Regions from separate parts of the Homo sapiens genome. Here all the other regions are linked to region 2. Evidence: promoter capture Hi-C in 16 types of primary human blood cells and fetal thymus (Javierre and others, 2016). All regions are on one chromosome and are shown on one strand. Each heading gives the region's core, a stretch centred on a gene start or on the middle of the fragment in contact. The rest is flanking DNA. Distances are from core to core; before and after follow the strand shown.

What was found. The method cuts DNA at HindIII sites, captures the fragments that hold promoters and counts their contacts. A CHiCAGO score of 5 or more calls a contact.
Region 1: a fragment that was not itself captured here is called in contact with the fragment with the promoter of ZNF32 in region 2 in 1 of 17 cell types (non-activated CD4 T cells); the score reaches 5.6 in non-activated CD4 T cells.
Region 3: a fragment that was not itself captured here is called in contact with the fragment with the promoter of ZNF32 in region 2 in 2 of 17 cell types (neutrophils and endothelial precursors); the score reaches 7.7 in neutrophils.
Region 4: a contact is called between a fragment that was not itself captured here and the fragment with the promoter of ZNF32 in region 2, in 7 of 17 cell types (total B cells, naive B cells, activated CD4 T cells and 4 more). The highest score is 7.3, in total B cells.
Region 5: a contact is called between a fragment that was not itself captured here and the fragment with the promoter of ZNF32 in region 2, in 1 of 17 cell types (total CD8 T cells). The highest score is 6.1, in total CD8 T cells.
Region 6: a contact is called between a fragment that was not itself captured here and the fragment with the promoter of ZNF32 in region 2, in 1 of 17 cell types (endothelial precursors). The highest score is 5.2, in endothelial precursors.

The regions. Positions count from the first base shown.
Region 1 is chr10:42,540,912-42,544,589 of GRCh38, forward strand. It overlaps the pseudogene ZNF37BP. Among named protein-coding and RNA genes, the nearest start is that of LINC00839, 67 kb to the left of the region's middle. The HindIII fragment of the contact is 1,048 bases long and covers 1,838-2,885 here.
Region 2 is chr10:43,647,156-43,650,926 of GRCh38, forward strand. It overlaps ZNF32 (zinc finger protein 32), which reads right to left and starts at 1,726. Exons shown (of 3, transcript NM_006973.3): 1 at 1,647-1,726. All of the region lies in intron 1 of ZNF32-AS3 (ZNF32 antisense RNA 3), which reads left to right. ZNF32-AS2 (ZNF32 antisense RNA 2) reads left to right here. Exons shown (of 3, transcript NR_047558.1): 2 at 1-54; 3 at 414-864. RefSeq lists a silencer at 1,232-1,751. The HindIII fragment of the contact is 4,172 bases long and covers 891-3,771 here.
Region 3 is chr10:44,840,515-44,844,193 of GRCh38, forward strand. The region is part of intron 2 of TMEM72-AS1 (TMEM72 antisense RNA 1); the gene reads right to left. Among named protein-coding and RNA genes, the nearest start is that of TMEM72, 69 kb to the right of the region's middle. The HindIII fragment of the contact is 731 bases long and covers 1,337-2,067 here.
Region 4 is chr10:42,638,928-42,642,217 of GRCh38, forward strand. All of the region lies in intron 1 of LOC105378268 (a long non-coding RNA gene), which reads left to right. Among named protein-coding and RNA genes, the nearest start is that of ZNF33B, 2.0 kb to the left of the region's middle. RefSeq lists a silencer at 2,654-2,948. The HindIII fragment of the contact is 1,839 bases long and covers 379-2,217 here.
Region 5 is chr10:42,622,146-42,625,529 of GRCh38, forward strand. The region is part of intron 4 of ZNF33B (zinc finger protein 33B); the gene reads right to left. Among named protein-coding and RNA genes, the nearest start is that of ZNF33B, 15 kb to the right of the region's middle. The HindIII fragment of the contact is 3,328 bases long and covers 1-2,950 here.
Region 6 is chr10:44,800,253-44,803,801 of GRCh38, forward strand. No RefSeq gene overlaps it. Among named protein-coding and RNA genes, the nearest start is that of TMEM72, 110 kb to the right of the region's middle. The HindIII fragment of the contact is 1,306 bases long and covers 1,592-2,897 here.

The sequences.
Region 1 (3,678 bases), core at 1,112-3,611, 1.1 Mb before region 2:
CCACAGATTAGGGCACAAAATAAATCTCAGTAAATTTAAAAAGACTGAAATAATAAAAATATATATATATTTTCTGACCATAATAGGATAAAGCTAGAAATCAGTAATAGAAAAAAATTTTTAACGTGGATATTAAAGTTTAATGATCAAATAAGAAAGCACAAAGGAAATTTAAAAATACTTAGAAACAGGTGAAAAAGTAAAGAGACTGTATCACAACTTATGGGATGCAGCCAAGAATATGCCTATAAGGAGATTTATAGCAATAAATGCCTATTTTCAAAAAGAAAGAAATCAATAACTTTACACTTTCAGCAACTAGCAAAGAAGGATCAAACTAAACCCAAAGCTAGCAGAAGGAAGGATATAATACATATTACAGCAAAGATAAGTGAACAGAAAATAGAAAACTACAGAGAACCAAAAAATCCAAAAGCTGATTCCTTAAATAGAACAAAATTCATAAGCTTTTAGCTAGATTGACTAAAGAAAAAAAATTCAAAGGACTAAAATCAGCAATGAAAGTGACATTACAAAAAAAAATGGGTTATAAGAGAATACTATGAACAACTGTACACTAATAAATTAAGTAACTCAATGAAATAGACACATTTCCTAGAAGCACACACATTACTAAAACTGACTCAAGAAGAAACAGAAAATCTCAACATACTTATAACAAGTAAAGAGATGTATCAGTAATTTTTTAAAAAACTGCCCAAGGGAAAAAAATCCAGCGTAAGATGGCTTCACTGGTCAATTCTATCAAATTAAAGAAGTAATACTAATCTTCCTCAAACATTTCCAAAAATTAGAAGGGAATACTTCCTAACTAATTCCCATGAGTTTTATAATGCTGGCCAGCATTATCTTGATACCAAAGCCAAAAAAAGACTTCACAGGAAAATAAAATTACAGGCTAATATCCCTTATGAATACAGATGTAAAAAATTATAAAATACTAGCAAACAAAATTTGGCAGCATATTAAAAACATTACATACTATGACCAAGTTGGATCTATCCCAGGAATGCAAGAGTGGTTCAATATAAGAAAATTAATCAGTGTAAGACACCACATTAATAAAACAAATGAATAAACACGTGATCATATCAATGAGGCAGAAAAAAATACAAAACCCAATACCATTCAAGGATAATAAAAGTCAGAAAACAGAGGAAAGGAAGCAAAGTTCTTCAACATAATAAAGTGCATATATAAAAAACTCACAGGTAACATACTCCATAGTGAAAGACTGAAACATCCCCTCTAAGATCATGAACAGGCAAAGCATAGTGCTTTCACCACTGCAATTCAACACTGTATTAAAAGTTCTAGCCAGAGCAAATAGGCAAGAAAAAGAAATAAAAGACATTCAAATTGAAAGGCAGAAGTAAAACTACTCTATTTGCAGATAACATTATTTAGCAAATAATCCACAAAAAAACTATGAGCTAACAAATGGTTTCGGCGAAGTTGCAGAGTACAAAATCAACACATAACAATTAGGTTTTCTGTAAAAAAAAAAACTCCAACAATGAACTATCCAAAAGGAAATTCAGAAAATAATCCCATTTATGATAGTATCCAGTAGAATAAAATACTTAAGTGTTATGGTCTGAATGTTTGTGCCCTTCACAACTTCATATGTTGAAATCTAATACCATTGCAATAGTATGAAGAGGCATGGCCTTTAGGAGGTGATTAGGAAGCTCTGCCTTCCTTCATGAATGAGATAAGTGTCCTTATAACTTAATGGACAAAGTAGTGGCTTCACAACCTGGAGAGACAGGTTTAGATACTGTGCTGCCAATAAGCAGAAATTTTATTTTTGATAAGCTTACATAAAGTAATAATGTTTTTCCAAAAATAAGACTTTGTCAAATGGCCCCTTTTAACTTCTAAAATTTTTTAATACATCAAATCTGATTTGAATATTTAATATAGCAAGTATGGATAATTCCAGGAAGATGGTGATCTAAGGGATCAAACCAGAGCTGAGGAGACAGGTAGCACTGGCAGGTTTAAGAGATTAGATACAGGCTGGGCGCAGTGGCTCATGCCTGTAATCCCAACACTTTGGGAGGCCAAGGCGGGCAGATCACCTAAGGTTGGGAGTTCGAGAACAGCCTGACCAACATGGAGAAACCCCGTCTCTACTAAAAATACGAAAGTATCCAGTCATGGTGGCACATGCCTCTAATCCCAGCTACTTCAGAGGCTGAGGTAGGAGAATCGCTTGAACCCAGAAGGTGGAGGTTGCAGTGAGCTGAGATCATGCCATTGCACTCTGGCCTGGGCACCAAGAGTGAAACTCCATCTCAAAAAAAAAAAAAAAAGATTGGATACAAACAGGGAGAAGGAGCAAATAAATATTGTGGATAATGATATAGCCTGGTTTCTCACTATTGGAGAAAGAAGTTACAAAGATGGAAAACAGAAAGGCTATGGGGTTAAGATTGAAACTGGGAAATGTCTATGTAAACTCATTGTTTAAAAAATATGTATAGACAGACCAATACAAAAATAAGTGTACACATGTGTATTTCTGTGTATGTGTATGTACACATACATACATGTATTTCCTATCTCTGTCAATTGAGAGGGTCTGAGGCAGTGACAGCCTCTAGCAATGAGCACCCAGATCTTGGTTTTTAAATTCCATCCTCCACTAGAAAGAACAATGTCCTTTGGAGAAATGGCTGATGGCAAAGGTAGTGCAGGAAAAGGACAAGATGGGCCAGGCATATCTGTTGTGCCACAGAGTAATTACTCAAAAATTGATGTGGGAAGCAGGCTGAAAATGGAATAGGTAATTCCAAAATTCCATCCCAAACTAAAGCAACAATTAAGCTGGAAAAACAAAAAAAACCCTCTCAGCATCAAGCTTTTCAGAATTCTCCAATCTAATTAAAAACCTAGTAAGCCCAGAACATTTCTGGCGTGGCTTGCTGATGCCTGTGCCAAAGTGGACAGTATGCACTTTGTTTTCAGAGAACTGTAGTTGTGTGTTTTGATCTGTCTATGCGGGCTCTCTGAAGAAGTGGCTCACAGGCTTGTCTTTGTTTTGCCTGCCTTGGAACTTTCTCAGGGCTAGTCTTCCAGGAAGTGCTAGTTGAAAGCATTTAAAGGCAATTATCTGGCCTCAGCAGCCAGATGAGAAAAGCAGCAGATGGACTGATAAAACTGGGAGTGGAAAAACTGGGAAGGAAATACATGGGGGCCGGGGTGGGGATAAGGGGTTTGAAAAGCTCCTGCATAAACCAGGGAATTGAGGTCATGTGCAAGGCCAGGGCAATATGCACGCTCACAAAAAACCTGAGAGGAACCTAAGCTTTCAGTCTGGTTGACCTTCAGGCTCAGTGTAAGCAGGAAGTAAAGCTTTACACAGAGATGTAAATGGCCTGGCAAACCATTACAAGAGCGCCCTAAAACAGGGCAAATATGCAAAGACCAGAATAGTTTTTTGTTTTGTTTTGGCTTTGGGCATTTAAAGAAATCTCTGTCAGATCACAAACTGACCACTAAACTAAGGGAACAGAGGTTTCTGTGACCATGTACAACAAAGAACTTTACAAAAATAGTTTTGAAAAGTCACAAAATAAACAAACAATGCAAAATAAACAGCAACAACAAATTCTGGGGAAAAGAATCTGATTTCTAGAATTAACACATTTT
Region 2 (3,771 bases), core at 476-2,975:
TCCTGGACTCAACGGATCCTCCCACTTCAGCCTCCCAAATAACTAGGACTACAGGTAAGCACCACCAAGCCTGGCTAATTTTTAAAAATTATTTTAACTTTTTTTTGTAGAGATCGGGTCTCATTATCCTGCCCAGGCTGGTCTCCAACTCTTGGCCTGAAGTGACCCTCCTGCCTCGGCCTCCCAAGACATGTAGGCATGAGCTACTACACCTGGCCCACATGATCTATTTTTTAAAAAAAATATTTCTTCTTACTTCAGGATCCTAATTACTGAATTCTTATACTTTTAAGAAATGCAGTGGTTCAATGCATACTCCTTGTTTCCCTCTAATTTGTCCTATCAAAATGCTGGCCTTCTGATTTAATGAAATAATAGTATGATGCTACCATTCTTTGTTTTGTCAACCTAAGCACCTGGTTCTTCTTGACAACTGCACATTCTGCTACATGCTGTGATGACCAGGAGAATCATTTAAATTTTTATTTGGAGGACTCACTTCCAACTTGGAACACAAGCTGCAAAGGAATTCCCTACCAGCATGCCAGCACATCATTTGGAAGTTCAAGGTATTCTTGCTCAACAGCTGCACACACATTAAAAGTCCCTGGGGTACATGGCGCCTGCTGCCTGGGGTTGGACTCTGTCGCCGGGGATTCCAGAAATTAGAGTAGAATTCACAGCTCTGCCTCTCCACCTGCTGTGAGGTCTTCAAGTTACAACTCCGCCGCCTATCAGGGACCTCCGTGATTAGTAAGGGAGAAATTGTCATATTTTTCTCCCTAGATCACAGGTCTGAGGAAGCAGTTTCCCCAAGATTTTGTAAAAGTGGCTTTATAATTAAAAACATTGATTTTCCTATTAGAAAGGCTACTATATCCTTTGGAAAAAGCTTAGAAGTAGTCCGTGAGTCTTGGCTTCTTGCCGTGGCTCCCCCAGGATATGATCTTGGGCGAGTAACCCAGCAGCCCTGACTCTGCTTCCCCACTTATTAAACAGGTTACTAACACTGTCCTATCAGGTAGGACAATGAGAAGGAAAGAACCAAACAAGAGGAGTATCAGACGAGACCACCAGACTTAAGATCTAAAATCCGGCGTCCTCTGGAGGGCGGATGAGAAGAGGGGTACACTTGGCGGTCTGGAAAATGTCCTGGGGCCAGTTTCAGGTTTAGGAGCTTGTGGGTAGCGTGGTTTCCCACACGCTGCCTGGCTTCCTACTCTCCCCCGCAGGGGCTGCCTCTCCTCCCACCCCGGAAGGCCGGCACCGGCTTCCCGCACTCGCTGAAGCCCGCACGGAGGCCGGGTGAGCCTGCCGCGGCCTCCCCCTCCCACGCCCCGACGCCATGGGCCCTGCTCCTCTCCGCAGACGCTGCCCTCCCGCCTCAGGCCCCGGGCCCCGGGCACCGGGCCCGCCCTGCGTCCTGAACCTCGGCATCCCGCTCTCCGGTCCACGGGACCCTGCTCTGCGGACCGCCGACCTCTCCGCTCGCGGCTGGCCTCCCTCGGGGCCCGGGCCGGCCAGGCCTGCTCATTTCCTTGGCGGCCGCTGGCATAAGGCGGCCACACGGAGGGCCCGGGACAGCGGTCTGATGGCGCAGCCCCGCCTTGCCCCGGCGCTCTGACCCGGCCAGCGGCCTCACTCACCGCAGCGGCGCGTGCCCGCAGACAAAGGCCGGCGCCGAGCCCGCAGCAGCGCCAGCGCCGGCGCCGGCGGAATGGACTACAACTCCCAGGAGTCTCCCCGCGAGCCCGCCCGCCGGGCCGTGGGTCTCGGCGGCCCCGGCTTCCCAAGAGCTCTGTGGGAAATGTAGTTCTCTGGCGCGCCCTGCGCTCGGGCCCCGCAGGTCCCTAGGGCGCGGGGACCTCAAGCCGTCCCGTTTGGACTGGTAATCCGGAGACTCACAGCGGTGACCTGTCAGCGGACGCGGAGCCGGGACGGAGCCACGGCCGCTCAGATTAGCAGGATCTGATTGACAGCATCGGGGTAGCAGACGCTGAGCCAGGGACTCAGGAATACAGGGTTCTTGCAGGGCGTCGCGGAAGGAAACGAAGTTTTTGGGAGAAATCCGTTTGATAAAGCCTTGGCGGCTTCGAGGTCATGTGTTGAGCCTCTGGCTGCATGAACAAAAGCGAAGCCCGCTTTCATGGAGCTTCTGTGAAGAGCAACAGGAACACAGGCAGTCCAGTCGTCCTGAGATACTGGGAGGAGCATGGTTGCTTTTGAACACGTAGGAGATAAAGCCTCTCTAATAATGCCTGTTTTTTTTTTTCCTTCACTCTGTCTCCCAGGCTTGAGTGCAGTGGCACGGTGTCGCCTCACTGCAACCTCCGCCTTCTGGGCTCAAGTGATTCTCCTGCCCCAGCCTCCCAAGTAGCTGGGACTACAGGTCTGTGCCACCATGCCTGGCTAATTTTTTTGTATTTTTAGTAGAGATGAAGGTTTTACCATGTTGGCCAGGCTGTCTGATATGCCTTAAGCCTCTTTTAAACGCACTTTTCCAGGATCGGGGCCACATCCTGGAGCTGTTCTGCCTGGCCGGGTGTATCTCTGGGTCCCTGCCTCTGGAGCCCCTCTCCGTAGATGTGTCTGTCCATCCTCTTTCGTGAAGGACTAATAAAGAATGCTTCCTCTTGCTATGTTCTTGTTCTCTACCCCAAAGCCACAGATTTGTTAAATCAAACAACTTAATTTCACTCAATATGCAAAGGTGTCTGTAAGTAATAAGTTGATTCCTAAATGTTAGCTTTTACTATTGCACATCATTTCTGAATTTCATTCAACATTTATCCGTTGAATCCATTTTAAGTGCTGACACTGGGGATACGAATGTGAGCAAGACACACTCCGTGCTCCTAGGGAGGAGCTGACAGTCTGGTGGAGCAAACAAACACCACCTTCCTCACATGGGGGTCGGGGTGTTGCACAGCTAAGTCCCAGAGTGTGTGGTGCAAACTGTCCTGAAGCTCCCCATTCCTGAACTGCCCCAGGTGGCTCCTCTCCTCACTCCTCCCAAGTCTGAGAAAGGGGTGGAGGGCGGCACACAGCAAAGGCCAAGGCTCAGAGTCCTAAGGCTGCGGCCTCTGCTTCACACAAGGGTACATAGGTTCTGTTAAGGTCAAGACCGGCTGTGGACACTAGGACAAGTTTCAGATCCTGCCGTGAAGGTACATGACAAAGCATTGGTGGGAAAAGGTGGCTGTGAGGGGGGACCATCGTCACTTTTATAGATCTGCATAAATTCCCTTAAGGCGTCTCAGGAAAGTGGACACATTGAAGGGCCCAAAGCAGGGGAGAAAGCTGTTAGGATTGGGGTTGATGTGACCCCAGCCTCCATAGACAGACTGCCCAGCTGCAAAATGGGGCACATCCTCACCCACCACCTGCATCTTAAGGCAAATACTCAACAAAAGGGAGGGTGTGGGGTGAGGGTGAAAGGGAAATCATCCGCAGTGTAGATTTGAAAAATTACCAAAGAACAATTTCCTCACTTTGCAGGCATTTCAAAATATTAGGGGAAGGACAGATAATTCAATAAATGGTGTTATGACAAGGGCTAGACATTGGTGGGGTCGGGGAGTTGAATGTTTACCTAACTCCCATGCCAAGAGAACCTCCAGATGGATTAATGTAAAATGGGAAACACAGAGCCACAAAGGCCCAGAAGAACACATGGATTAATCTTCTTATAATCTTGTCATAGGGAAGGCTTTCATTTTTGTTTTTTTTTTGAGATGGAGTCTCACTCAGTCGCCCAGGCTGGAGTGCAGT
Region 3 (3,679 bases), core at 452-2,951, 1.2 Mb after region 2:
TAAAAGGTAGAGGTTGGCAGAGAACACTCTTTAAATGGCCCAAATATATGTTGTTTATAAGAAACTCACTTCAAGTATAACAATATAGGCAAGTAGAAAGTAAATGGATAGAAGAAAAATATATATATATATATAATGCAAACACTAATCAAAAAAATGAGTAACAATGTTCATATCAGATAAAGTAGACTTCAGAGCAAAAGCAATTACCAGAGACGTTATTTAATGATAAAAGAGTCAATCCATTTAGAAGGCATAGAAATGCTAAACGTGTATGCACCAACCAACAGAGCGACAAAATATGTGACGTGAAAACAGATAGAACTAAAAGGAAAAATAGACAAGTCAACGGTTATCATTGGAAACTTTAACACCCCCTCTCAACCATTGGTAAAAAAAAACTAGACAAAAAATAATCAAGGATACCATCAAACAGCAAGAGCTCATTGACATTTATAGAACACTCCACTCAACAGCAGAATGAACATTCTTTTCAAGTGCCCACCAAACCTATGCCAAGATAGACAGTGCTATGATTTGAGTGTTTGTCCCCTTCAAAACTCATTGTAAAATTTAATCCCCAATGTGGCAGTATTGAGAGGTGGGACCTTTAAGAGGTGATTGGGTCATAAAGGCTCTGTCATCATGAATGGACTAGTTCATTCATGGATTAATTGGTTAATAAGTTGTCATAGAGGTGGGACTGGTGGCTTTACAAGAAAAGGAAGGGAGACCTAAACTAGGACATGAGCATGTTAAGCCCCCTTTCTATGTGATGCCCTGCACCATCTCAGGACTCTGCAGCAAGTCCGCCCCAGCAAGAAGGTCCTTACACGATGCAGCCCTCAACCTTGGGCTTCCCAGCCTCTATAACCATAAAAAAAAAAAAATCCTTTTCTTTATCAATCGCCCAGTTTTGAGTATTCTGTTATAAGCAACAGAAAACAAAGACAGACACTATCTTAGGCTATAAATCTAGCCTCAGCAAATGTAAAAGAATTGAAATCAGAGAGAGTATGTTCTCTAATCACAATAAAATCAACTAGAAATCAGTAAGAGAAAGATAACAGGAAAAATTTCAAGCACTTGTAAACTCACAAGCACATTTCTAAATAGTCTGAGTCAAAGAGGCTATCTCAAGGAAAATTTGTAAATGCATCGAGCTAAATAAAAATTAAAACATAACATTAAAATTTGTGGGACACAGTTAAAAGCAGTGCTAAGAGGGAAATTTATAGCACTGAATGTACACAATAGAAAACAAAAGTTTCAAATCATTTATTTATGTACCTCTGTCAAGAACCTAGAAAGAGAAGACAAAAATAAATCCAAAGCAAGCTTCCAGAAATAACAAAGATAAATCAGTGAAATTCAAAAGAGAAAAACAATAGGTTATCAATGAAACTGACAAACCTCTAATAAGATTGGCAAAGGGAAAAGAGAGAAGATACAAATTACTAATATCAGAAATAAAACAAGGAAAACCAATACAGACCCTTCAGACAGCAAAAGGGTGACGAGGGAAAGCCATAAACAACTTAGCACACATAACTACAAAAACTTAGATTTAATGGACCAAGTCCTTGAAAAGGACAAATTACCACAGCTCATCCAATATAAATAAATAGTTTGAATAGCCAATAACTATTAGGGAAATTTAATTTGTAATTTTAAAACCCCCTAAAAGAAATATTTATGCCCAGATGGAAATATTTATCTCCAGGATTCCACTGGAGATTCCTACCAAATCTAAAGAAGAATTAACACCAATTCTGTACATCTTTTCCAGGAAATAGAAGGGGAGGGAATGCTTTATCAAAGTTTAAAACTTTTGTGTTATTACTTTAAAGAGACAGGGGCTTGCCATGTTGCCCAGGCTGTTCTCAAACTCCTGAGCTCAAGCAATCCACCACCTCAGCCTGCTGAAGTGCTGGGATTACAGGTGTAAGCCACTGTGCCTGGCCTAAAAACTTTCGTTGAAAGAATGATAAGATGAGTTACAGAGTGTAAGAAAATATTTGCAGATCATATATCCAACAAAGCACTAATATCTAGAATATATAAAGAAGCTTCAAAACTAACAATTAAAAAAATCGAATTAGAAAATGCACAAAAGACACAAAGACAAAGTGGATATACAGATGGAAAATAAGCCCATGAAATATTTTACATCATTAGCCTTTAGGGAAATGCAAATTAAAAACACAATGAGATACCACCAATATACCTACATTAATAGCTAAAATAAAAAATAGTAAGGCCGGGCGCGGTGGCTCACGCCTGTAATCCCAGCACTTTGGGAGGCCGAGGCGGGTGGATCACGAGGTCAGGAGATCGAGACCACGGTGAAACCCCGTCTCTACTAAAAATACAAAAAATTAGCCGGGCGCAGTGGCGGGCGCCTGTAGTCCCAGCTACTCGGGAGGCTGAGGCAGGAGAATGGTGTGAACCCGGAAGGCGGAGCTTGCAGTGAGCGGAGATCGCGCCACAGCACTCCAGCCTGGGCGATAAAACGAGACTCCGTCTCAAAAAAAAAAAAAAAAAATAGTAACAACACCCAATGTTGGGTGCAACAACCAATGTTGGGTGCAACACCCAATGCATGGATGCAGAGAAATTGGATGACTCGTACATTGCAAGTAGGAATGTAGAATCATTCAGCCACATTGGAAAACAGTTTGGCAATTTTTTAAAAAAATAAACATGCAAATAACATATGACCCAGTGATTATACTCTTGGACATTTGTCCTAGAGCAATGAAGGCTTACATTCACACAAAAACTTGTTCACAAATATTTATAGCAATTTATTTACAACAGTTAAAAACTGGAAACAACTAGATGTCCTTCAGCAGGTAGATGGTTAAACAATTGGGTACTATTAATATATATCCATACTATGGAATACTACTCAGCAGTAAGAAGAAACTATAGATAAATACATCAAACAGATGAATATCCAGAGAATGATGCTAGTGAGAAAAAGCCAGTTCCAAAAGACTGGCTTACACACTATCAGATACACACTATCTGATTCAATTTACATAATATTCTCAAAAATGACAGAATTATAGATGTGGAGCACAGAGTCGTGGTATCCAGGGTCTAAGGAGGGGTGGAGATAGGAAAGAAAGTGGGTATGACTATAAATAGACCACATGAGGAATCCTTGCGGCAGTGGAATGCCCTGTAGCTTGGCTGTTCTGATGTCAATATCCTGGTGGTGATATTGTACTGTAATTCATGGTACCATGGATATACCAGGATTTGTTTAACCACTGAAAGCAACTGGGTAAAGAGCACATGGGGTCTCTGTGTAATATTTCTAGCAACTGCATGAGAATCTACAGTGATCTCAAAATAAAACTTTGATTTCAAAAAGAAAAAAATGTTTTTAATCCAAATATTTTTAATCCTAAAGGCATATGGAAACAGAAAATAAATAAATACTACGTTAATTCTTTTCACTACAAACGGTCTTTCATAAACTCTTCAGAGTTTTTCTGAATGGAGAATTGTAATTCTAACTAAAAGATCTACTACTTATCCTGAATGTGGAGTCAAGGTAGAGTTATCACCATCCCAATAAACTGCACATTTCACCTCTGCCTACGCCAAGGATCAATCAGTGTGTCATCTCCAAAACTCTACATCAGCTTATGGCCTGAAGCAGCCTGGC
Region 4 (3,290 bases), core at 48-2,547, 1.0 Mb before region 2:
AAAGACTTTGACACTATCAGCGATTCTTTGAGAGCAGGGATGGGGGGGATGGGGGAGGTGCCACAGGAAAGCTACTTCATCAAAATCGTTAACGCAATAAACGGAAATTGAAAAGTCAGAAAATAGACATAATCCGAAAGAAGAAAATAAATGTCACATGATTTCCCCTGTGACATTAAAATTGCTTGACTAAATGGAAATACATTTAGTCTATCTGTACCTTTCTTAGGAAGACAAAATTCCTAAAAGAATATCAACAAATTTTTTTATGTATTTTTTCTCTTTGATCTTTAGTGTATTGTGTACTTTACAAAAGCATTGTCAACTTTATCCAGAGTAAGTAAAAAACTAAATGAACAGCCATTATACGTTTTAAAAAGCTTGAAAAAATGCCTGAGAAATATCTATATCTATCTATATATATAATATTGCTCTATTCAAAGTAGTTTGGCACCTGCTCCATGGAAATAAGACACCATGATTGAGAGTATTCTTTAATGTGTAGTAAATACAGCATTTCAAAACAGTGAGGGAAAGAATGGAGTATTCCAAAGAGCATGTCATTCCTAACAATTTGGAATATAGAGATATATATAGATCACACGTGATAAAATTCACATGTATACAGTATTGAAACATTTAAACGAGTATAAATTTTTGAAAATTGACATGTGGGCCAGGCACAGTGGCCCACACCTGTAATCCCAGCAGTTTGGGAGGTGGAGGCAGGAGGACCACTTGATCCTTAGAGTCCAAGACCAGCCTGGGCGTTATAGTGGGACCCCTGTCTCTACAAAAAATTAAAAATAACAATTAGCTGGGCATGTAGGCAGGCGCCTGTGATCCCAGCTACTCAGGAGGCTGAGGTTGGACGATCACTTGAGCCCCAGGTTGCAGTAAGCCATCATGGCACCACTGCACTCCAGCCTGGGTGACAAAGTGAGACTTTGTCTCAAAAAAAACCAAAAAGGGATGTGATACCAAAGACAGAAACTATAAATTTAATATCAGTTACATTTTATAATAGAGAAAAATAAGCAGCTCCATTCCAGCAAAACTTTTTAAGTCCATTATGAGAATTGAAAGAAATGCAAATATGGCCGGGCATGGCAGCTCACGCCTGTAGTCCCAGCATTTTGGGAGGCTGAGGCGGGCAGATCATGAGGTCAAGACATTGAGAACATCCTGCCCAAAATGGTGAAACCCCTTCTGTACTAAAAATACAAAAATTAGCTGGACGTGGTGGTGCGCACCTGTAGTCCCAGCTAGTCAGGAGGCTGAGGCAGGAGAATCGCTTGAACCCGGGAGGTGGAGGTTGCAGTGAGCCAAGATCGCACTACTACACTCCAGCCTGGTGACAGAGTGAGACTGCATCTCAAAAAAGAAAAAAAGAAAAAAGGAAATGCAAATATTTGAGTAAAAATATGTGAAACATATTGAAATTTACATTTTTAAATTTATGCTTTATATACTGAAAAGTTCACTTTATTTGTTGCATAATTTTATGAGTTTTGACAAACGCACAGATTTGTGTAACCACCACCACAAGCAAGATACAAAATTATTTCACCTGTCAATAAAATTCCTCCATGCTACCTTTTGAAAGTCAGATTCTCTAACCACTCTTAGCCTCTTGCAGCCACTATCTAGTCTTTGGGCCTGTATGTTTGCCTTTTTTAGAATATTATATAAATGGAATCATACAATATGCAGTCTTTGAATCTGGTATCTTTTACTTAACACAATGCAATTGAGATCCTTCCGTGTTGTTTTGTGTACCAATACTTCTGTTTTTCTTGCTGTTAGAAACAAGTGCCTGGTGCCGCAGAGAAAACCAGCACAAAGGCAGAAAATTCCTCAGCAAGAGAAATTTACTTCTGCAGAAGGGTGCAGGTTATGCCAGTCATGATCACAAGAGAACACCGAGAAGGGCAGGGCAGGGGTTTTTATCCCTGATGCAGTTCCTAGCACTTCTGTGTCCCTTCCCCATTGGCTGGGATTAGACCTCACAATCAAAGCTAACTCGATTGGCTAAGGTTTAAAATTGACAGGGTCTATTAGGCGGGAAGGAAGGGGGACTGTCCATTACTAAGCGGGAAGGCATATCCGGACTTGTCTGGGCATGGCAAAGGCGGGAAGGTTGTTTACAGAACAGGTAGCTTGGAGACAAGGAAGTACAAGGAAGTTGGTCTTGAGCAACAAACAACAGGGAACTAAAGCTTTCTGAAGAGTAATTTGTCAACTCTGACATTGCTGACTCCTATTTCTTGGTATGGATTTACCAGCTTCCTTGTCCATTCCCCAGTCCAGGGATATGCAAGTTGTTTCCAATTGGGAGAAATTGTAAATAAATAAAATATTTTTAAGTTTAAGATTTGAAAAGATTGTAAAAAACACTAATATACACCTATGGTATGGGCTTGGGGAAATGTTTATTCCCAGTGTATTAATCAGGATTCTCCAGAGAAACAGAACCAATAGGAGGGAGTAAGGGAGAAAGAGACATTGATGATGAGAAATTGGTTCACATGTCTATGGAGGCTAAGAAGTCCAACAATCTGTCATTTGCAAGCTGGAAATCCAAGAATGCTGGTGGTGTAATTCTGGTATGAGTCCAAAGGCTTGAGAACCACGGAAGCCAATGGTGTAAATCCCAGTGCAAGGACAGGAAAGGATAAGATGAAATGTCCCAACTCAACAATGAGGCAGAAAATATGGGTGAATTCCTCCTCTCTGCCTTGTGTTCTATCCAGGCCCTTAGGGGATTGAATGATGTCCATACACATACGGAGGGCAATCTGCTTTACTGAGTCTACTGATTCAAATGCTAATCTCATCTGTACACACCCTCACAGATGCACCCATAAGTAATGTTTAATCCAGACACCCTGTGACCAAGTCAAGTTTACACATAAAATTAACCATTAACCATCACAGCTATTCTATTTTTTTTTTTTTTTTTTTTTTTTTTTGAGACAGAGACAGAGTTTTGCTCTTGTTGCCCAGGCTGCAGTGCAATGGCATGATCTTGGCTCACTGAAACCTCTGCCTCCCGGGTTCAAGTGAGTCTCTCAAGTAGCTGGGATTACAGGCATGTGCTACCGTGCCTGGCTAATTTTTTGTATTTTTCCTAAAGACGGGGTTTCTCCATGTTGTTCAGGCTGGTCTCGAACTCCCGACCTCAGGTGATCCACCAGTCTCGGCCTCCCAAAGTGCTGAGATTACAGGCCTGAGCCACCACACCTGGCCACAGCTATTCATTTTTACGGTGAATTTGATTAACTCTGGAG
Region 5 (3,384 bases), core at 37-2,536, 1.0 Mb before region 2:
GTATACTAAAAACTACAAAATACTGATGAAAAATATTAAAGAAGGCATAAATAAAGGAAACAGTATCTCATGTTCACAGTTTGAGAGATGTCATATTTTTAAAAGGCTAATACCATCCAAAATGATCTACAGATTTAACACAATCCCTATCAAAATTCCATCAGCATTTTTACCAAAATAAAAAGCTGATCCTTAAAGTCACGTGGAATTATAAGGGCCCTGAATAGCGAAAACAATTTTTAAAAAGAAGAACAAAGTCAGAGGACTCAAAACGTCCAATTTCACAACTTATTAGAAAGCTACAATAATCCAAACAGTGGGTCATGTCATAGGTGTAGACATACAGACAAACGGAATACAAGTGAGAGCCCAAAAATACACTGCCTATGGTCAACTGATTTTTGACAAGGGCGTCAATTCTATTCACTGGGAGAAAGAAAAGCCTTTTCTTTCAGTTAATGCAGGCCAAATATTGTCACGCTACTGACATGAGATACAACAGTCATACTCACAGACAAAATAGATTAGAGGTTACCACAGGCTGGTGGGAATGGGAATGAGTAGTTACTGCTTAATGGTGATAGAGTTTCTGTTTGAAATGATGACAAATGACCAAAAAAATGATGCTGGGTTAACTGGATTTCCACATGAAAATAAAGTTAGAAAATAAAGTTAGATCCCTACTTTGACTATACACAAAAATGAACTGAAAATAAGAGCTAAAACAATAAAATGTTTAGAAGAAATGTTCAGAAGAAAACATAAGGAAAACTTTGGGTTTGGTGATGGATTCTTAACTATGACATAAAATGGATAAGCAACAAAAGAAAGAGTAGGTACGGCCGGGTGCGGTGGCTCACGCCTGTAATCCCAGCACTTTGGGAGGTCAAGGTGGGTGATCACCTGAGGTCAGGAGTTCAAGACAAGCCTGGCCAACATGGTGAAACCCCGTCTCTACTAAAGCCACAAAAATTAGCTGGGCACTGTGGCATGCGCCTGTAGTCCCAGCTACTCGGGAAGCTGAGGCAGGAGAATCACTTGAACACAGGAGGCAGAGGCTGTGGTGAGCCGAGATCGTGCCACTGCACTCTGGCCTGGGTGACGGTGAGACTCTGTCTCAAAAACAAATATCTGTGTATATATACACATTAAAAATAATTCAGTGGTACCCCAAAAAGCTAAAAGAAATACACTTTGATAAAACAATTCTACTCCTAGGTTTATATCCAAAAGAAATGAAAACAGGAACTTTGAGCAGATAATGATATACCAGTGTTCACTGAAGCATTATTCACAACAGCCAAAAGGTGTACGACCCAAGTGTACATCAACAGATGAATGGATTAAACAGCCAGAAAAGAAAGTCTTGATACTTGTTACAATACAGATGAAAGCTGAAAGCATCATGCTAAGTGAAATAAGGCAGACACAAAAGGCCAAATGTTGTCACACTACTGACATGAAATATTCACAACATTCAAAACTCACAGAGACAAACTAGATAAGAGGTTACCATAGGCTGTTGGGAGGGGGGAATGAGTAGTTACTGCTTAATGGCAATACAGTTTCTGTTTGAAATAATGCAAATGTTTTAGAAATTGTGGTTATGGCTATACAACATTGTGAGTGTAATGCCACTAGACTGTACACTTAAAAACTGTTAAAATGGCAAATTTCATGTTATATATATTTTACTACACACAAAACAATATATTGTCAAAATGCTCCAGCATCATTTGCTGAATACCTGACTGAATTTCTTTTGCATTTTTGTCAACAGTTTGTCAAATGTCTTAGCTTCAGCTGCCATAACAAAATACCAGACAGTATGGCTTAAACAACAGAAGTTTATTTCCTCACGGTTCCAAATGCTGGAAGTCTGAGATCAGGATGCCAGCATGGCCAGGGCCTGGTGAGGGCCTCTTCCCAGCTTGCAGTTGGCCACTGCATGTTCACATCGCCTTTCCTCTACGCACATGGAGAGTGAGGAAGCTCTCACTTCCTCTTCCTGTAAGGCACTAACCTCATCGTGAGGGCCCCACCCTCATGACCTAATCTAACCCTAATTACCTCCCAAGGGCTCCACATCTCCAAACACCACCACACTAGGGTTGAGGGCTCCAACATATGAATTTTGGGGAGACATGAACATACAGTCTATAACAGCATAATCAATGTTGAAGTTTTCTATTCTTTTCCATTGTTCTATGTGTATGTTCTATCAATGTGTATATTCAACCAACATCCTGTCCTCTTGATTATTATAGCTATTAATATATACATACAGTAGTCACTCCTTATCCAAGGGCGATACATTCCAAGACGCCCAGTGGAAGCCTGAAGCCTCAGATAGTATTGAGCCCTATAAATACTGTTTTTTCCTAAATATACAAACCTAAGATAAAGTTTAATTTATAACTTAGGGACAGGGAGAGATTAACAACATCATAAAATAGAAAAGTTATAACAATATGCTGGCATCGCTACTCTTGCACTTTAGGGCCATTATTAAGTAAAATAAGGGTTACTTGGACACATATAGTGACAGTAAATAATCAAGACAATTACTAAGTAATTAACTCATGGGTAGCATATACAGCCTGGGTATGCTGGACACAGGGTTGATTCATGTCCTGGAACAGGACAGTGCAAAATTTCATCATGCTACTCACAACAGTGTGCAATTTAAAACTTAGGCATTACTTATTTCTGAAGTTTCCTATTTAATATTTTTGAACCACAGTTGACCTCAGGTAACAGAAACTGCAGAAAGCAAAACCACAGAAAAGGGGAGACTAATGTAATAAGCCTTAACACTGGATACAATAATTCCTCCTACTATTCTTTTTCTCAAAACTTCTGAGAAAAAATTTCTCAAAATTGTTTCATATTTTATATATATATATATATATATATGGTTCCTTTGACCATTTATGGAAATTTTGGAATAAGCTTATTTAAAGCTGAGAAAAACCTTACTGGAATCTTGACAGGAATGCCATTAAACTGTAGGTCAATTTGGAGAGAACTGGCCTACTTACAAAGTTGAGTTTCCCAATCTATCAAGAGACCACGTATCTTCATTTATTTCAGTGTTCTTTTATTTCTTTCATCAGAATTTTGTAATTTTCAGCACAAAGGTCCTATACATATTTTGTTCAATTTATAACAAAGTATTTAATTTTCTATGGAATAAGTGGTATTATGTTTTTAATTTAGATTTGTATATGTTCATTGTTAGTGGAAAGAAATTGATTATATGTGTTCATCTTGGATCCTGAAACTTTTTGGAAATCATTCATTCATTCTGGGAGGTTTTCATTTTGTTTTCTTTTCTTTTTTTTTGTTTTTGAGACGGAGTTTCACTCTTGTTGCCCAGGCTGG
Region 6 (3,549 bases), core at 995-3,494, 1.2 Mb after region 2:
CTACTGTAAAAGAATGTCTGAAGGAAGTTCATTAAACAGAAAAGAATTCATAAAAGAAGGACACAGGAACATCAGGAAGAAAGAATGACAGAAAAAGCAAAAATACGGGTAAATATTTTTTTACCACAGACTTCACTCCTCTTGAATTTCCAAATGTATGTTTGACCGCTGGAGCAAAACTTGTAATAATGTCTGTATAGCTCCCAACACATGTAGAGGAAATATTTAAGATGATTGTATTAAGAATGGGGGAGGGTAAAGGGGCATAAGAATAGGTAAGTGTTCTAACTCACTCAGGCTGCTACAATGCCAACCCAAATGGACTGTGATAAGATATGTACATATAATTTACCTAAGCAATCACTAAAATAAATGCAAGGAGATATATCAGAAAACACTAAAGATAAGTCAAAATGGAATTCTAAAAATATTCAAGTCACCCACAGGAAGTGAATAAAAAGAAAACATGAAGATAAACAATCAGAATAATCAGAAAATGAAAAATGAAATGGTAGATAACCTCAACATTATATTATATTGATCGAATAATAGATCAATAACTATTGTGCATGTAAATGGTCTAAATATACCAAATGAAAAGCAGAAACAGAAATTGACAGGGTGAATTAAATCAAAAATATGACCCAACTATACACAGTCTAAAAAACAAACAGACAAAAATACTTCAGATATAACTATTAAAAGAAAAACCTTAGATAAATTAAATTTAACAGTTTAATTGAGCAAAAAAAAATGATTCATGGATAGGGGACCACTGAGGACTAGAAGTTTAGAAATAAAGAACAACTACAAAATATCCATAGCTATTATACTTAACAGTGAAAGGACAAGTGCTTGCACCTAAGCTCTAGAACAAGAAAAGGATGTCCACTCTCACCACTATCATTCAGCACAGTACTGGAAAATCCAGCCAGCACAATGAGGAATGAAAAGAAAGTAAAAGGCACATAGGATGGAAAGAAAAACTTTCAATACTGGGAGATGACATAATAGTCTACATAGAAAGTTCTGAGAAATTTTTCAAACAAACAAACCTAGAATAAGTAAGTTCAGCAAGGTCACAGGATAAAAGATCAATACACAAAAATAAATATGTATACATATGTACACACGTGTATATGTGTGTATGTGTGAGAGAGAGAGAGAGTGCTCTATATATGTTTTAAAATATAAAGGTTGGTTCTAGAATACTAACGATGTTAAAATAATTAAATGGGGAGGCCATTAGACTGAGGTGGCTCCAATGCCCTTTGTTCCTACATAAACAAACCCCTGAAACCCAACTCAGACTCATTTCCTATATATGACTAATTTTTTAAAAATTAAACTTAAGCTCAGCCCACCACCAGCCAACTGGACATTATTAGTTATATCACTTTGAACTTCCCACCTACATAGTCCAAATGAGGCCATTGTTCAAATTTTAACCAATTAATTTATTTGCTCTGCTTCCATATTCACCCTTTTAAAGCTTTTCATCTACCTCTGGGGAGTTCCAAACCACTCTAGTTTGGAGCTGCCCAATTCATGAATTACTGCTTAAATAAACTCCGAAATTTCAGTGCATCAAAGCTTATTTTTTTTAACAATGGAGATTGTCTTAAAATAGTGGAAATTCAGGTGATGAATTTTCTTTATAGAAAATCAGAACCAGGTCTCTCAGGTTGTCCCTGTGTCCTCTGGACAGTGGCACCTGCAGTTGTCCAACATGGGAGGGCAATACTCCCTGGACAGGAAGCACAGTCTTCTATTAGGGCCACTTGAATGACACTGAACTTGACACTGAGAACTTGTCTCTGAGAAATGACGCATTTTATTTTCCCACAGCTGGGGCCATGCCAGAGGCATTCATGCTGCGCTTTCTAAATACCTCAAAGACAGGCTGGGGCTGCAGCCAAGTCAGGCAATGAGCTGGCTGGGTGCCAGTCTCCCTGGGGTGATCCTGAGGCCTCTGGCTGAGTGCTCAGAGCCGGGTGTCTCCTGTGGCCCAGAATAAGGGAGGCACAATGGCCTTCCCACCTGTGCACCATCAGAACCAGGGGTTATGCAGAGGCTGAGTAAAAGAGGGTAATGACATGGCAGCCGAGATCCAGTCCCCTTTAAACTTAGAAGAAAATCCAAGCATCTTTCCACAGGCCCCTGAGGTCCAGCCTCCACCCAGAGGCCTCCAGTGACACAATATGGACATTACTTAAATTATGTGGTCAATCAAACATTTATGTATCAAACCAGGCTCAACGGAGTGCAAACATCCCACAGACAATCTATAGATTCTATTGGGAGGCTATAGTCAACTTATCAAGAAAATTGGCTGCAGGCACACACATGGAACTGTCCTGGAAGGGAAATCAGGGTTTGAGATGCACAGTCAGGGGACTGGAGGTTTCTTCCCCAAAGCATGACCACCAGGAAATCAGAATCAGCCAGTCCCTCAGAATCAGGAACAAGATCATTGCATGAGAGGAGAAATAAGACAGTACCCATAAGAGAAAGTCCAGTTCCGAATCTGAACCCTGAGTTCGTTTGGTTGTAAATCCCTTCAGGGATGTGCGTGTGTGTGTGTGTGTGTGTGTGTGTGTGCATGTTTGTTTGTGCATGCATGTGTGTACTATATGGAAATATAATTTTTGTGACTCATGTTTTCACTCAATAGTAAATTTTGATCAACTTCCCTCATCCATACAAACTTAGCTCATCCTGCCTCAGCTGCCAGAAGAATTAGGGTTTCACTGCAGGGCCGAGTAATTGGGGTTGGTGTTTCCTGGGTGTATTGTGCAGCTCTGCGCCAGCTGAGACACCCTGTGCTTCTGCCCACTGGTATTCAGAGCCTACAGGCACATCTTCCTTTTCCCTGGCTTGCAGGCTGAGCCAAGTGAAGCTTGGGCAGCGTCTTAGTGTGGTCCTCCAAATCATTCCCTCCAACTTGCTTCCTACCTGGCCTCAGCGCTCCCAGCCCTACTATTCCAAGCTGGGGTGGTTCACACTCTCTGGGGAAGCCCATCCATTTCTATCCCATCTCAGTGCTGAATCCTGGAAACCACTGGTTCCAATGCCATTGACTTCCTTTCATCAAAAATTTCCTTTATGCCTCAGACTATTTATGCCACCATTTTCCACTTTTCAACCCTTTTGCAGATTTTCAATTGATTCCTTTCAAAGGTAAACACACATGGACTCAGCATCAGGAAACTGGAAAATGGGTGCTCTTAAGGCAAGATGGGCAGACAGAACAGCTTGTTCTTGTTCAGACTCAAACCCAGGAAGGGCCACGATGTGACCCAAGAACCTTGAGAACTTTGGTAGCAGAGGGAGCAGAGGTGAGAGGTGAAAATGCTCATTCCATAAGCATTCGCAGAGTGCTCATTTGACACCAGGCCTCTATCAAGTGGCAGGAGACAAGATGAAGGGACCTCAAGTGCCAGAAGATGCAGGACTTGGCCCACATGGCGATTCCTCTGGGGGAGTTAGGGTGTTCTGGAACTGCATTGAGTGGCCCTAGCCACATGACAATCATGCCCCTGTTTGGGG